2 separate regions of the Homo sapiens genome follow, and region 2 is linked to region 1. Evidence: promoter capture Hi-C in 16 types of primary human blood cells and fetal thymus (Javierre and others, 2016). All regions are on one chromosome and are shown on one strand. Each heading gives the region's core, a stretch centred on a gene start or on the middle of the fragment in contact. The rest is flanking DNA. Distances are from core to core; before and after follow the strand shown. Region 1 holds the start of TIAM1-AS1 (TIAM1 antisense RNA 1). Region 2 holds the start of KRTAP7-1 (keratin associated protein 7-1).

Evidence for each region. Contacts are between HindIII fragments. The CHiCAGO score rates a contact against its expected background, and 5 or more counts as called.
Region 2: a fragment that was not itself captured here is called in contact with the fragment with the promoter of TIAM1-AS1 in region 1 in 1 of 17 cell types (M2 macrophages); the score reaches 5.5 in M2 macrophages.

The regions. Positions count from the first base shown.
Region 1 is chr21:31,557,037-31,561,922 of GRCh38, reverse strand. It overlaps TIAM1-AS1 (TIAM1 antisense RNA 1), which reads right to left and starts at 2,690. Exons shown (of 2, transcript NR_171013.1): 1 at 2,328-2,690; 2 at 1,436-1,906. It also overlaps a transcript of TIAM1 not described here. RefSeq lists a silencer at 2,342-2,971 and enhancers at 2,251-3,063, 3,877-4,690. The HindIII fragment of the contact is 6,855 bases long and covers 830-4,886 here.
Region 2 is chr21:30,828,186-30,832,701 of GRCh38, reverse strand. KRTAP7-1 (keratin associated protein 7-1) reads left to right here and starts at 2,943. Exons shown (of 1, transcript NM_181606.3): 1 at 2,943-3,663. The coding sequence starts at 3,004. The coding sequence ends at 3,267. The HindIII fragment of the contact is 1,534 bases long and covers 1,089-2,622 here.

The DNA of each region.
Region 1 (4,886 bases), core at 1,441-3,940:
AAGGCAGCAGCCCTCAGATGAGGCAGGGAAGAGAGATCCCATTACTCACCTTCAGGGAAGCCTCTAGTAACCCGCCACTCACTCATGAGGACTCCCTACCCATCACACACATGTCCAGTGGAAGCTGTTTATTTATTCAGTAAACATTATTAAATGCTACTATGTGCCAGGTACTCTTCTAAACACATTTTTTTTTTAAATTGTTGTTTTTTATTTATTTTTTTTTTGGAGACGGAGTCTCGTTCTGTTGCCCAGGCTGGAGTGCAGTGGCGCAATCTCGGCTTACTGCAACCACTGCCTTCTGGGTTCAAGCAATTCTCCTGCCCTCAGCCTCCTGAGTAGCTGGGACCACAGGAGTACACCGCCATGCCCGGCTAATTTTTTGTATTTTTAGTAGAGACGGGGTTTCACCGTGTTGCCCAGGCTGGTCTCAAACTCCTGAGCTCAGGCAATCTGCCCATCTTGGCCTCCCAAAGTGCTAGGATTACAGGAGTGAGCCACCGCGCCTGGCCAGCACATTGTTAATATTAACTCATTCATCCTCGTACCAACTGTATGTGGTATGAAGCACTATTGTTATCTCATTTATATAAATGGGGAAACCGAGGCACGGAGGCCTGAAGTAACTTGCCCTAGGTAACAGCTAGAAAGGAACCGGGCCTGAAATTAGGCAGCCTCACTCCAGGGTCTGTTCTTTTAAGGATGGCCAGATGTACTTCTAAACTTCCTTAGGGAAAAACCCTCTACTCATTTTCAAATATATGTATTTCCCCTAGATGGTGGCTTGTAACAGGTAAAGAAATGGCTCTTTGTCCTGGGATGAAAAGCTTCTCAAGGGAATTATTCTCCATTCCAAGCTGTTGGCTGAAACGAGGCTGGTTTTGGAAGGGGTGTCTTTGGAAAATCTCTCAAACTTGACTCAAAAACCTCCCTGTAATACTGATCATGGAACCTGGTGGACGCATCCGTTCAAGAGCTACCATGCTACCCATTCTTCTCAAACTGATGTTTTAGAAGCACTTCAAATCCTTAAAGCTCTTGCCTATAATTATAGCTCCTCTATAATTCATGGATTCCATGTTTTTTCAGTGCCCCAAATGTGCCAAACACTGTGCTAGGACTGGGATCCAGCAGGGAAGATAGATAAGATTCCGGCTTCCATGGAAGGCTGCAGTGCAACAGGCAACTTCAGCCCCGTGTCATACAGGCCTGTGAGGGGAGCACAGGGGGTGGAAGCACTGGAAGTGGAAATGTGGCATCTAACCTTGACAGGGTACAGGAGGCTTCCCGGGGTCTGTAAGAGCAGTAGTTCAGCAATGCCTACTGCATGGATGCCTTGGCGGCCAAGCTGGGATCTGAAGAAGGGTAGGAATTAGTGAAGTGAAGGGAGGGGCTGGGGGTTGACGTGTTCTGGGGAAAGAAAAGAGACCCAGAGTTGGGAGCGCAAAATGAGATTTTTCTGCTTAGAAGGATCATTCTGCAAAGTGGAGAACAGATTTCAGGGGGCAAGGCCTGGGACAGAAGGACGATGGGAGCCCTTTACTGAGGTCCAGGTGAGACAGGATGGGAGGAATGGGTTTGGGAGGTTAACAAAAATGGATGGGAGAGGGTTAAGAAGAAGGAGGAATCAGGGATGACTTTCAATTTTCCGGTTTAGGTTTATCTTCCACAGCGTGGGCAATTCTTTTTGTTTTCAACAAGATCACCCCGGGAGCGCAGACCTTCCCAGCTCCCGGGGCGAACACGTGTGTATGGAATCAAGGTGTAAGGAACATACATCCCAGCCTTTGTTGTAAATGGGGAAGTCTAGAGCTCTTCAGGAGAGGAGGAAGCTCCGGCCTCGTGTAGGGAAAGGTTTCGCTCGAGGCTGTACCGCCAGCGTCTCCGTTTCCGCGTTCTCCACAACCTTGCGAGAGGTAAACTGCAACTGTAGTTTCCGGATTTTACAGAGGAGCCCAGGAGGTCTGCGTGAACCCTGCCCGAGTCACTTACTCTGCCCAGCAGGTAAGCGTAAGGCCCAAACCCCACGCTGTTATTCCAAGTTCGCTTGCTGGGCACGGTAAGTGAACCCTGGGAGTCCTGGACTCTGGTGAAGGCCACCATGCCCTACCTGGAGGCTGCTCAGGGTCTAACATCCTCTAGCATCCACGGGAAGGGATTGCGTTAGGATTTTTTTCTCTCGTAAAAAAGTTCCTGTCTCCCCCTAGAGCCAGGCACACGCCTCCCGCGCCAGACCACTTGTCCCAGGCACAACATTTTTTGACTCTTCGCCTCCCCCGTTTCGATCCCCCTTCCTCTCCGCCTTAGGTGGCAGGAAAATCCTTTACCTCCGACCAATCCCACCGATGCCGAGCCGCGCGCGCGCGCCAACTAGAGCTCCGTCTGTGCACGCCATTGGCCACCTCCACCTATGCGAGATGACAGGCAGCTTCGCGGACCTATCGCCGAGGGAGGCAGAGGCCTCCGGCCCTCCCAAAGCTGCTTTGTTAGGGGCTCCCTGGTCGTCCCCCGGCCCGCCGCGCCTCCGCTGCCTGCGGGCGATCTCCCCGGGCCGCGCTGACGGAGCCTCGCAGGAAGGCATCTCTGGAGCGCGCGCCGCCCGCGCCCCTCCAGCCGCGCGCTCCGAGCCTGGCTGCGGCGCGGATACCCGGCGTGCGCCCATAGTCGCTCTACAGCCCAACTCCGAACGCCCCGCTCCTGCATCCACCGCCTCGGATTGGCTGGCCGGAGGCGGAGCGATTGTCAGGCGGCCCAATCGGAGCTCGGTTTCCCACGGGCTCCCGCGGCCCGGCCCCCGAGGCCGCAGGCGGAGGGGCCCTGACAGCTCCGATTGGCAGACCACGAGCGGGTTCGAGCGCGGCCGGCAGAGCAGCGCCGCCGCCGTCGGGCGCGCAGCTCTGCAGCTCCGCGGACGCCTTGGCGCCCGCAGCCCCAGGGGCACGGCTGCCCCGCATCGTGCCCGGCCCCGTCGCGGAGATCCCGGACGACCGTCGCGGGTGAGTACCGCGGGCCTGGGGTGCGCGGGCGTCCGGCCGGAGCCGCCCCGGGAGACGGCGGCGAGGATGCCCGGAGCCTCGGTGCCCGTGCCGGGCACGTTCTGACCCCCGTCTCCCGCACACTGGGGCTCCCGGCGGGTCCTAGCTCCCCCCGATCGGGCTTTCCACGTATTGTTTTCGTGTTCACACACTTGGGAGGTGGGGAGATGCGGGGAGGAGAGGCAGGAGGAGGCATCCCTCGCGCGAAGGAGGGAGACGAGACCGTGCAGCCCAGGTGCCTTCGCTGGATGGAAATGACAGCGTCCGGACGTCGGCATTCGGTCCTCTCGGCAGCAGGAGGTCAGCGCTGACCTGCGGCGGCCGCGGCACTTTGTATTTTATCGGCTGATTTTTGTCAACTTCGGGGAGGGCGTGCTTGTGCATCCTTGTGTCTATGTTTGCGTCTCGGTCCCTGACTTAGGCACCTCCGGGCCTGGCTTTTCGGCGACGCGTCCTGGGCGCTCACCTTGGCGATCCGTGCCGCCCTCGGGGCCGGGCTCACCGGGCGGAAAGCCCGGGGGCCGGCGCACGGAGCTGGGGACCCGCGACGAACCCCCGGAGGGGGGCATTAAAAGCGGAATCCTGCGGGTGCGCAGACAATGCCTCATCCGGGCGGTCGGGTCCCGGGGACTGTGCCCTGGGTCCCCGCGCCCTATCCCGTCCCCGCCTCGCCCTCTCACCAGCTCTGCCGCTGCGATGCTGCTGCGCCGCGCCCCTCGCCACCCGGCTGGGGACCCGCGTGGGGCCCGCTTTTGTTTACAGACCTCGCCATTGGGCGAGAGCAGCGCGCCGTGCGCCCCCCAGCCCCGGCGGCTGCCGCTTGCCCCCTCGAAACCTGGAGAAGTTGTTGCGCGCTGTCAGGTGACGCCCCCTCCCCCCGGCCGCGGGGCGGGATGCTGCAGGGGAAAGATGCCGTCTCGGCGCCTTCGCGCCCAGCCCCCGCCGCGCACGGCGCCTCTAGGTCCCCTGCACCCGGGGGCGCCCGTGTCCCAGCCTGGGGTCCAGGCTGGCGGCCCTCGGGGCGCCGACTCGGCCACACTCACCCGGTTCCAGTCGTCGCGTCTCCTGGTCTTGCCCCCGGGTCAGCCCTGGTTGACTCGGAGCCTGCCTTTTCCCGCGCGCTGGCAGGTCTTGAAGGACGTGCGCGAGCCCTTGGGGACACTGTGCAGTCTGTGCCCGCCTCGGTGACACCCGCGCGGCCCCGCAGGGCAGCTGTGCCGCATCCCGAGTCAGAGCCGTCCGGATCGGGTTACCCATGCACGCTGACTTGGCGCATACTTTGAGTTGGAGCAGAGGTTTAGAGCCTGTGCGCTGAGGTCAAACAAACCCGGGTTCCAGTACCTGCTCGGTGTCACTCACAAGCTGGGTGATCCCGGCCGAGCTATTCTATCTTCCTGTGTCTCAGTTTGCGCATCTGTAAAGTGGGGATAAGGAATAACCTCTAGGGGGGCGGGGCTTAAACGACCATATAGATTAACCTCAAAGCACAGTGACAGCCACGTATGAAATATTAGAGTCCTGTTGATTCTGTGTTAGAGGAAATCTGTAATAGAGGATGGCCCCTTGTCGCTTTCCTTTTCTGCGTTCTTCACTCCCCCAGCCCCAATTTCTTTTTATTATAAAAGGCATGAAGGACTGCTGTTCTCAGCTTCAAACAGGACTTGTTTTACTTGGCCTTAGGTTTAATTAGATTTATCTAATCGCTTGCAGCCCTTTTAAAAATGTGTTTGAATTTCCATTAGGTTTTAGTTGTTTCTTCTTTCTTCTTCAAGATTCTGCTGGGACCCAGACCTGGGTTTGGAGAAGGAAAAACCCTTCCAGGTGGAAAGCAGTTGCCAGTGAACCAAGGAC
Region 2 (4,516 bases), core at 606-3,105, 730 kb after region 1:
GAAATGGTGTATAACACTTGAGGAGAGCCTTTAAAAGCTACCATGGCTTGCCCCATTCATTTTCCCCTGTTTGTCATATTTCAGATAATCAAAGCACTGTCAGCTTGAGTCTTTTGAGTGAAAATGATGTGTATCCAAGACAGTCACCAATGTGAGAGGAATTCATAGTGTGAGCAGGCAATACATTTCTGAACATGGAAATTTTGGATGTCTGTCTGTTATAGCAGCAAAAACTAGCCTTTGTTTTTTTGTTTTCTAGTTTTTAGCAGCAAAAGCTAGATCGATGTGTTCTTCAAAAAATAATGCAATGAATTATAGATTTGAGGCATGTAGAAGCTATATCCCTTTAAAGCCTTAATGACATATCAAAAGCAGGATAGTAAAGTAGTTAAGAGCATGGCTTGGAGGTAGATGGCATGGGTTTGGAGATTGATTCTGCTGACTATTAACCATGTGACCTTCAGTAATTCTCTTAAACCCTCTGGACTCGGTTTTCTTATAAAGAATCATAATACCCACATCATAAGATCATTATAAAAATTAAATGAATTAACACTTGTCAAATGCTTGGAATAGTGCATAGTAAGCCTTCTTACTATATATAGAGGTAAAATATATAATTAAGTAGTATGTGCAAATTCTTTAGAACAGAGTCTAGCACAGAGTAAGTCCTTAATGATATTTTTTGTTATTATCAATCTTAAAAATCATTGAATAGCAATCGAGTACTTGGCTGATAATTTTCTCTGGGTATGTCTAGTAAGAGATAGGAAAGTGAAAACAAGCTAAGGAGAAAATATAAGTTTTTCTTTTGATTATGGGTAACAAAACCAGCAGTCACATAGGTGGGTTTTACCTCTGAGGAGACACTTGAACACATTGCTGTTACCTTCCCTTTCTAATCAGGTGTGTCCTGAGACAAGAAGCAGAGAGCATCAAGAAATGGAAGAGGACAAACTAAAGCTTTTTCTTTAATTACCTCTATCATCCAGAGTTAAGGGAAATAAGTCACCAGCGACTGAAACCAAACACTCCTGCCAATGAGAGATAAGCATCTCTGGGCAATTTCACACAGCCCAGCAAAAGCTTTTTTGAATTCTCATGACAAACCAGCCCTGGAATTTATCAGGATGATTTATTCATCAGAATTACCTGAGATACCCATTACAAATAGAGATTTCCAGAATCTCAGGTGGTGGTGGGAGAGGAGAGCTCCTGGAATTCTGAATTTCAAGCGAATTCTTTAGAAGATTCTTCTACCTGCTTACATTTGAGAACCCTAAATCCAGTCCTGTGGTTTATACGGAGTAACTGAAATACCACTGCCACCTGGTGGCAGCATGTACAAATTACAGGTTCCAATGTCATTGTGTGATAGAATCAGTAGTGAAATTTTTCAAGTCACGCGTAATTCTTAGTCACCCCTGCCCTCTCCTAATCACAAACGTATTTTTGAGTTTTCTGGATTATCTGATACAGAGTTTATATAATTTAAACCCTGAGGACACAACCTCTTACCATTTTAATTCATTCTTTTTGTTAAACTGAATTTGAAATTATAACTTATTTTTCTTTAACTTTCTCTATATACTCTTATGACATTTAATTAATTTGTAGAATAAAAGAAATCATATCCACTTATAGAACATTCTTTAGGCAGCTCTCTGTCAGAGAAACTGAGAGAGATAGAATCTTAAAGAGAGAGGGATGTCTGAGAGGAATGATTAGTTTTGCATATTGGACTCTGTGATTGTCTGTTAAGATGGAAATAAAAAAAGGAATTGGTATTCAGGAAGTTTTTTCTTCTACTTTCAGAGAATTCTGACTTTGATTCACATATAAAAAGATGATGTCGTAAACCTTTGAATTGGAATAGACTTAGCTTTGCTGAGCTCAGATCCTTCCTGGTTTACGTTCTTCATGAGAATTGGTTATGTAAGGCAAAATAAGAGCAGAAGGAAGTGTTGCATCCTTAAATATAACTGGTATTTCATAATGGATCATGGCATTCAGGCTTGTTTTATAGGAGTCAGTAAGAAGCAAGTGTGGTATAACATGACTCTGAAATTGAGCATCATCCCACTCAGCGCCAGTGTGGCAACTCCAGAAAGACAGTTTGGCAATGTTCAAGATGATTTACAAGCAAACATGGTATGTTCTCCATGAAAAAATAAAATATGTATTAACAAACAGAATGCTCATAAATGAAATTGATGAAAATTACTTGCAGGTTATTCACAGCCAACTTATTATTTGGCACCATTGCAGCCTCTGTAAAAACACCTGGTTGGATAGATTTGTGTAGCAGTGCTTTTTAAAATAAAAAATACATTTTGAGTTAAAATTTGTATAACACAAACCAAGGCATTTTAAAGGTAACAATTCAGTGATATTTAGTACATTCCAAATGTTTTGCAACATTGTCTAGTTCCAAATGATTTTCTTCACTCCAAAAGGAAACTCTGTACCCATTAACTAGTTGGTATACAATTGTTTTAAAAGGGCACATGGGTGAATTTCAAGAGGTTATAGAATTTCAGTTTGATGTTTCAAAATAATGTTCAAAAGACCTCAATATATGGCTTTGTCTTGGCTTGAAGTGTTTGCATTCTTGCCAAAGCTTTTTTAGTTTAGCTATGTCAGTTGGGAAGAGTTTATAATCAGAGGATTTAAAGAGTCTCACATGATGCAATCAAGAACAGTAGTTAAACTATGGGACTCTGATGAAAAGAATTCGATTGCGTGTCAAGCATGGTCACTGGCTTTAAAATAGTACAGAGAAAAGCCAACAAAAATGTGGGCAATGAGTCTGTGCATTCCTTATAAGCATTTTATTAGAAAAGAATGAGATTACCTATGCAAATTAGTGGGAAGATGTTTAGACAGATGTGTTGTGCCCACCAGCTTGAGGTATAAAAAGCCCTGTACGGGAAGAGACCTTCATTAACACTTGGGTAACTTACCCTTCACAATCCATCTAAATCCTTCTCAATTGCTGCCACCATGACTCGTTACTTCTGCTGTGGAAGCTACTTCCCAGGATACCCTATCTATGGGACCAACTTCCATGGGACCTTCAGAGCCACCCCCTTGAACTGTGTTGTGCCTCTGGGCTCTCCCCTGAACTATGGCTGTGGATGCAATGGCTACAGCTCCCTGGGCTACAGCTTTGGTGGTAGCAACATCAACAACCTGGGCGGCTGCTATGGTGGTAGCTTCTATAGGCCATGGGGCTCTGGCTCTGGCTTTGGCTACAGCACCTACTGATGGACCAATGGCTCCAGTGACTACAGGACTCTCAATTAATTCTCTGCACAGAACAACCTGAAGAGCAATGACTGTCTTCCTACCTTCCCATGTGCTTGGGTGATACATCTTCCATCTTCTTGCTGACTTCTTGCTGTGGTCTTTGTCTTTGATGCTGTTGGACAAGTCACCCAGGACTCAGGTGCTGAACTGATACTCATCTACAGACAAAGGAAGCAAGATGCATTTTTTTGGTCATACTTGAATTTTAACAGTGAAAAAGTAGTTTGCCTCCCATGGTTGCTCTGCTCATGTATTATTAGCTTCTACATCAACATTAATGTATTACAAATTGGGTGTGGGTAGTAAGGGGATTTTCTGTCAGTCTCTTAATAAATCTATTTCCTTCAGCATAAATATTTTTGTCCTGGTTATTTATTTCACTTCTCTTTTATGCTCTTGAATTCATCAATCAGTTTAAACCCGTAATGGTTGACTTTAACCAAATTTTATTCTGATTTCAGACTATATAGCCAGGATAGGGTGATGCCTAACCATTTTTTATTTTTATATTGATATTTCAATTTAAAAAACTCCCTGGAAATGTCCCGTATTTAACCCAGATATACTGCAATTGTTGGCGTTTCTCAAAGCTGATTATAAAACAGGAATATTTCTTAGCTGTTGAATGCTAAAACATGTTTTCTTTTCTCTTTTCCTTAGTGACAAGATTCCATTTTGGTTCATTTCTCCTTTCCTACTGTTTATAGAACTCAGCTCTGGGGAGATTTGAACCCCTCATGTTGTTGGAAGAATTGGAACTAAATAGACTTAGTTATGAAACTCTATCTTTAAGAGTTCCTAAGATTTGATCAATAAAGGGAAGCCAACTACTAAAATCACATATTATTTTTTATCCTTTTTTGATAGATGGGTTTATTTTCTCCACTTTCTTCACCTCTGATTATACATATAACTAGTACTAAAAATGAAGTGTTTATTCTTTGAAATAATAGTTGCCATCAAAAGCACTTGAAATGGTATGTTGTCTACACTTAGAAAATGCTCCCTGTCGATCTAGAACTAGAAATAACATTTGACCCAGCCATCCCATTACTGGGTATATACCCAAAGGTCTATAAATCATGCTGCTATAAAGACACATGCACACGTATGTTTATTGCGGCACTATTCACAATAGCAAAGACTTGGAACCAACCCAAATGTCCAACAATGATAGACTGGATTAAGAAAATGTGGCACATATACA